Regions from separate parts of the Homo sapiens genome. Here region 1 is linked to region 2. Evidence: promoter capture Hi-C in human tissues and cell types (Jung and others, 2019). All regions are on one chromosome and are shown on one strand. Each heading gives the region's core, a stretch centred on a gene start or on the middle of the fragment in contact. The rest is flanking DNA. Distances are from core to core; before and after follow the strand shown.

Region 1 (3,499 bases), core at 755-3,254, 160 kb after region 2:
GTGTACACTACCCATTCACTAAGAAATTACTAACGCAAACCAGGGCTGCCTGCAATCTGCTTAACAGAACACATGGCTGTGAAAAACAGCACCCAGGAGTGTGAAGGGCACTAGATGGGTTGGCTATCATTTGTAAAACAAGATTTTTTTTTTTTTTTTTTTTTGAGATGGAGTCTTACTTTGTCGCCCAGGCTGGAGTGCAGTGGTATGATCTCGGCTCACCGCAACCTCCGCCTCCCAGGTTCAAGCCATTCTCCTGCCTCAGCCTCCCGAGTAGCTGGGATTACAGGTGCACACCACCACGCCTGGCTAATTTTTGTGTTTTTAGTAGAGACGAGGTTTTTCACCATGTTGGCCAAGCTGGTCTCAAACTCCTGACCTCAGGTGATCCACCCGCCCCAGTCTCCCAAAGTGCTAGTGTTACAGGCGTGAGCCACCGCACCCAGCCTGTAAAACAAGATTTTAGACTAACGAGCTGGCAAAGTACAGGGGCCCAGAGGAAGTAGCTGTTGGGGAGAGGGGTGTATAGGGAACCACATCTTTGGGGGAAACCAATGAATCAGGAGAGGACATTTGTTTCTCTGGACATTTATCCAGAAGAAAGAAAAGTCAAGGGTGACAAGGACAGAACCATCAACCAGCCAGAGCTATAGTCATGGGCCATGTCTGGGCCAGACCCAGCCTATAGACATGCTGTTTGGCCTACACAAGATTATTAACATTTTTGAGCCAACATGTCCAAGTTGGAAGATTTCGCATAGAAAATTCAATTTCCTGAGTTCTTGTGAAAAGCTGAAGGCTAGGCGCTGCTGGACACACATTCCTACGTGAGAGCGACGTGGTGCCCTAAGGCCTGCCTCTCACTCTGTAGGACGTGCCCATGCCAATTCCACCTTGTCCTCATTCCTCCTTACTGTCTCTCTGAGGCACCCCCTCCTCGCTTGCTTCCTGCATATTGTACAGGGCAGGGTGGATGACACAGCGGCACAGCGCCTAGGAACAAAGCTAGGACCAAGGAGTAGAAGTCTCAGAGAAGAAGACTGAGGAAGAACTTCAGAAAGTCTGGCGTTCTGAGTTCTATTGACTTGTCCATTCTCCATCTCACTCCCCCTTAGGATCTACCATGCCCAGAACCTGCAAAAAAACCTCAAGGACCTTTTCAGAGGTCCATCACTTATTTATTTATTTACAGAGTCTTACTCCATTGCCCAGGATAGAGTGCAGTTGTGTGATCATGGCTCACTGCAGCCTCAACTGCCCTGGGCTCAGGTGATCCTCCCATCTCAGCCTCTTGAGTAGCTGGGACTACAGGTGCATGTCACCATGCCCAGCTAATTTTTTGTATTTTCGGTAGAGACAGTGTTTCACCATGTTGCCCAGAATTATCTCAAACTCCTAGGCTCAAGCAATCCACCCACCTTGGCCTCTCAAAGTGCTAGGATTACAAGCATGAACCACCATGCCCAGCCTAGAGGTCATTTAAACCAAACTCCCACTGAATGCTGGAGTCTCCCTAGGATGGCCCTGAATAAGCCTTGCCCAGTTCTGAGTAAGATGGCAAATGAGCAGGGCTGCATTATCCCTCCCCGGAACCCAGTCCTGGAGATGCCACTGGGCCAGCACAGGTTGGGAGAGCAGGGCAGGGCGGGGCCATGCTGAAGGCCCTGTCTCTTTCGTGGGGAAGACACAAGATAGTGATGAGGTAAAGAAGAGGGCACAATAAGTTATGGTAACCATAAGAAGAATAACCTTTACCTTTCAAACCCACAGAAGGAAATTCAATCTACACATAAAGGATACGAAAGGAGAAAAAGAAGCAGAGAGAATATATGATAAAGCATTTGGCCGGGAGCAGTAATGGGATTACGCTCATGCCTGTAATCCCAGCACTTTGGAAGGCCGAGACAGGCAGACTGCTTGAGCCCAGGAGTTCAACACCAGCCTGGGCAACATGGTGAGACCCCCATCTCTACAAAAAATACAAAAATTAGCCAGGCATGGTGGTGTGCGCCTGTAGTCCCAGCTATATTCGGGAAGCTGAAGTGGGCGGAGCCCTTGAGCCTGGGAAGGCAGAGGCTGCAGTGAGCAGAGATCAAGTTACTGCACTCCAGCCTGGGTGAAAGGGTGAGACCCTAACTCCAAAAAAAATAAAAAAATAAAAAAATAAAAAGCAAGCAAGCATTAAATAAGACAGCATAGGTAAATCCTAATATAATAATAATTATAGTAAATATATAACAGGCTCATCTTCTGTATTAAAATTCAGATTCTTATCTTGGATATTGTTTAATCCATCAATATCTTGTATAAAAAGATAAATTTAAAGCAAAAGAACATATAAAGGTTAAATAGAAGAAAAAGCTTTTAGTTAAATAAGGTAAACTCTGCTCCCTCCCAGAAGCCCATTAAAATAAAAGTAAAGTAATTTTTTTTAAAACGATCTAAACTCAGTGGCTCACGCCTGTAATCCCAGCACTTTGGGAGACTGAGGCAGGCAGATTGCTTGAGGCCAGGAGTTCAAGACCAGCCTGGGCAACGTGGTGAAACCACATCTCTAATACAAAAAAATTAGCCAGCATCGTGGCACACACCTATAGTCCCAGCTACTCTGGAGGCCAAGGTGGGAGGATCAGTTGAGCCCAGGAAGTCGAGGCTGCAGTGAGCCAAGATCATGCCACTGCACTCCAGCCTGGGTGACAAAGTGAGACCTTGTCAAGGAATAGAAGAGAAGAGAACGGCTGGGCATGGTGTCTCACGCCTGTAATCCCACTTTGGGAGGCTAAGGTGGGCAGATCACCTGAGGTGGGGAGGTCGAGATCAGCCTGACCAACAAGGAGAAACCCCATCTCTACTAAAAATACAAAATTAGCCGGGTGTGGTGGCGCATGCCTGTAATCCCAGCTACTCGGGAGGCTGAGGCAGGAGAATCGCTTGAACCTGGGAGGTGGAGGTTGCAGTGAGCTGAGATCGCACCATTGCACTCCAGCCTGGGCAACAAGAGTGAAACTCCATCTCAAAAAAAAAAAAACAAAGAAAGAAAAGAAGTAAATTCTCAAGAACAAAAAGAAGAGGAACCAACAGCAGTTAAGACGTGCCAATGCGCTTTCAGAAGATGGAAGCGAAAGGAAGCACTAGCAGAGCAGATCCTACAAGATAAGATTAGATTAGATGAGAAAAGAAAATATCCAAAGCCTACACAGTAACTGAGACACAAGCCAATTAGAGCCCAGGAGCCTAGGACTTGAGGCAGTGAGTACCACAAAGGTGAGCATGAGGCAGATAGCTGAATACAGGAGGACTTCCTGACCTGTAGAAGGAACAGCTAAAGTCCCCCCAGGTCTTCTTCCCACCCAAGGCAGCCAAACATACTACCCTTGCAGAGTTAGCACAACAGAGGTCAAAGGAGTCCTGGAGCAGAAGTGAGTATCTACAGACCAAACAGAGACCCAAGCCTGCTTCCCCTACTTGACCCTAAGAACGCAAGGTCAACCAGGCAGGA
Region 2 (3,068 bases), core at 459-2,958:
GAGTCTTTGTGGGAGGGGTGGCGGCTTCAGGGAGCCAACAGAGAACTCTTAGGGGTGTGGGAATGACCTGATCTCCTGCCAGTAGGAGGTGGAAAGCCCAGGATACACTCTCTCAAGGGAGACGACTCCTCCACTCAAGACAGTTGCCAAAATGTAGGTGCCTCCTTCCCTGACCCATACTGAGGCAAGCAAGCTCTCGGAAAGGGCAGGTGCCCAGGGAGCAGGCTCAGATCATCCTTGAGAGGCAGCTCTGTTGATCCTCTCTGCCAAGCTCCAACGTCACTCAGCCAGCACCCAGGCCAGGGTCCCGGAGAAGAGCCCACCACCGCAGCACCGCCCCTGCCTTACGCAGTGGGAAAGGAAACAGCTCTCTGTTCCCACTTTCACCTTCTAGGGGCCTCGGGATGGCCGATGGCAAAGACCAGGAAGAAGAGCGCGATTCCTGCCCAATTGTGGCCAGCATCTGGATTCTCCCGGAGGGCTGGATCGGGCCTCGCCGAGTGTTCTCCCATCTCCCACCTTCCCTACCTGAGGCTCTGGGCTCTCCAGACGCTACAACCCAACCTGGGGCAGCCCAAAGTCTCCAGTGGAGGGGAAAGCGAACGGGATCGGTCTCTATCCCCTTTCCCCTACCCGCCCTGAACATAACTCGGGTGCCTAGGGCCCACAGCCGATTTCGCTTAGAGGCTGCCGCCGCACCCGACCTGGCGGGCTTCCGGGTGTCCCCAAGCCCCTCCCGGCGGCGCCGAGACGCACGTGCATCCAGCAGGCTGACACACAGGCCGCCGCCACGCATGCAAACCCGTGCCTGCACGTACGTGCATGGCCCACATCTGCACACACGCCATTCCAGAACTGCGCTCTCCCCTCGCTCGGGCCCCGGGCATACGTGTGCACGCAGGCAGGCCCGCGCACCCAGCCCCACACCGACGCCCGCGGACCGGCGGGAGGTCCCGGAACAGGGGCGGCCCGGCGACAGGGTCCGGGCAGCCTCCGCCTCAGGGCGATCCTGCCAGCCTGGGCTGAGGCCAGAGGGGTGAGTCAAGAGGTGGCGAGAAAACCGCAGGGCCGTCCCATCCCAGCAGGGCGCGTCCAGGGCCCCGCGGTGCCTCAGCGCCCGGCGCCCCCAGGCCCAGCCCTCCAGTGCCCCCTTGTCCCCATACCTCCTCCTCAACGCCATCCCCCAGCAATCCACGTGACAGGGTCCTGCGGGAGGCCGGAGGGCTCGGCCTGAGTTCCTTCTCGCCAGATTAGGCGCCTGTTCTCCGCCGGAGACCCAGAGCGCTACCAGGTCCCGGGAGCCTCGAAGTCCGGGGAAAGTCGGAGCAGCAGCGCCACCCCTGCCCCGCAGCCCGTTCGCGGGGGGCCGGCGGCAGCCAGAAGCCGCAGCCCCTCGGCCCAGGCGCGGCTCCCTCAGTCCCCGGGCCGGCCGGTAGGGGCGCCCTGGGGCAGCGCCACCCGCCCCTTCTCCACGCGCCGCCCGCAAACTCGGCCCAAGTTTCCGCGCCCGCCGAGCGGGCGAGCTCCTACCTGCAGAGCGCCAGGACTCCCGCCGCCGCTACCCCAGGCGGCCTCCGCGTCCGCATCCTCCAGCGTCTCTCAGGCCGCGGGTCCTAGTCCGACCGGGCCCTGCGCGGGAAGTCGCAGTGAGCACCAAGCCCGGAGCAACCCTCCTAGCTGCCGTTCGCGCCGCCGCTGGGCGCCGTCTGCGGTCCCGGGCGGGGCGGGCTGGGGGCGGGGCGGGGGCGGGGCGACTCGCAGGGTTGGGGAAGAGCCCGGCCCCGCCTCTGGGAGCCTGCGCTCCTGTGGGCAGCGGGTGCGGAGGGCCCGCGTGGGGCCAGCTCGCTAGGAGCGGGCTGCGGGCGCTGTGCACCGCCCGTAACCGCCACGCTCCACGAACCAGTGCCCGGCGGGCCCGTCACGCGCCCTCAGTCGCTCCCTTAGATCGTTCATTCACTGCCACTTGCTGCGATGTGACCTTGCGCCTGCCGCTTGACCTCGCTGAGCTTCAGTTTCCTTATTTGCAAAAGTGGAATTCTGTCTTCCTCATAGCGGTGGCGGTGTAAGCTTGGAAAAGGGTGTTTGCAAATATCTGGCACACAGTAGGTGCCGGCATTCCCCTGTCCAGCACTAGTGTATTAGGGGGCTGGAGAAGGGCTCCTTGATCTGTCCCCTCATTTCGTTGTAGTCAATGAGGGCAATTTCCAGACTCCTGCTAGGGCACGGCAACTGTCTGAGGAAGCGGCAATCTCCCCATCCCTGGAAGGGCCGGGAATGAGGGTGCTGGGGGATTTGCAAAGTAGCCTGGGTGAGGCTCCCTCCATGAGGCAGACCGGCGCGCAGCCTGTGAGGCGGGTGGAGTGGAGCACGCCCAGCCAGGAATGGTGTGTTGCAAAGAGAGGCTGGAGGGGGGAAGGGGTGCCTCTCCCTGGACCATCTGACTGTGGATGAGAGCCCCTCAGTGCTGCTACTTTATCTGAAGGAATCTGGTCCGTCAAAGCTCCTGGGCTGCCCGAGGACTGGGAACAGGTGTGTGCAGTGGGGAAGGGGAGGGCAGGTGGACATGCCAAAGGTCAGAGTCAGTTCAGGAAGCAAAACTATCCCCTCAGATCCCAAAGGTAAGTTCTGCCTGAGTCAGAGCAGAGCAGGCCTGAGGCTGCAGGTTCCAAGAATCACCAAGCAGCTGGAGCAGCTGGAGCTGAGGAGGAGGGGCTGGGCGCTGCAGGTAGGAAGAGGAAGTGAGGTCACCTGGGGAGCGGGGGCGGGAGGTGGGGGGAGAGTGTCACTTCATTTAGAGCTGGAAGGACCTTAGAAATAGAGTCGGGAACCATATAGGGAGAGACACTCAGAGAGGGTTGGGGCTTTCCCCAGGTCACTCAGCAGGCTGGGACAAAATCCCAGATCTCCTGGCTCCCAGCCTGGGGCCCTTCCTGCAGCCACACCTTAGCGTCAGGAAAATACATCTGCGCGCGGACAGCTAGGGGTCACACCAAACATCATACCCTTAACCCCAGCCTGCAGCCCCGTGGGTCACAGGCTATTCACTGCTCTTGCCCCTTACCAACTCT

What was found. Contacts are between HindIII fragments. The study calls those that stand out against the background at their distance.
Region 1: a contact is called between a fragment that was not itself captured here and the fragment with the promoter of C15orf39 in region 2, in 3 of the 25 tissues and cell types used here (dorsolateral prefrontal cortex, lymphoblastoid cells and spleen).

What each region holds. Positions count from the first base shown.
Region 1 is chr15:75,039,318-75,042,816 of GRCh38, reverse strand. All of the region lies in intron 2 of PPCDC (phosphopantothenoylcysteine decarboxylase), which reads right to left. Among named protein-coding and RNA genes, the nearest start is that of PPCDC, 17 kb to the right of the region's middle. The HindIII fragment of the contact is 3,829 bases long and covers 90-3,499 here.
Region 2 is chr15:75,200,522-75,203,589 of GRCh38, reverse strand. It overlaps C15orf39 (chromosome 15 open reading frame 39), which reads right to left and starts at 1,708. Exons shown (of 3, transcript NM_015492.5): 1 at 1,531-1,708. RefSeq lists silencers at 572-621, 742-1,901 and an enhancer at 1,383-2,105. The HindIII fragment of the contact is 11,571 bases long and covers 1-3,068 here.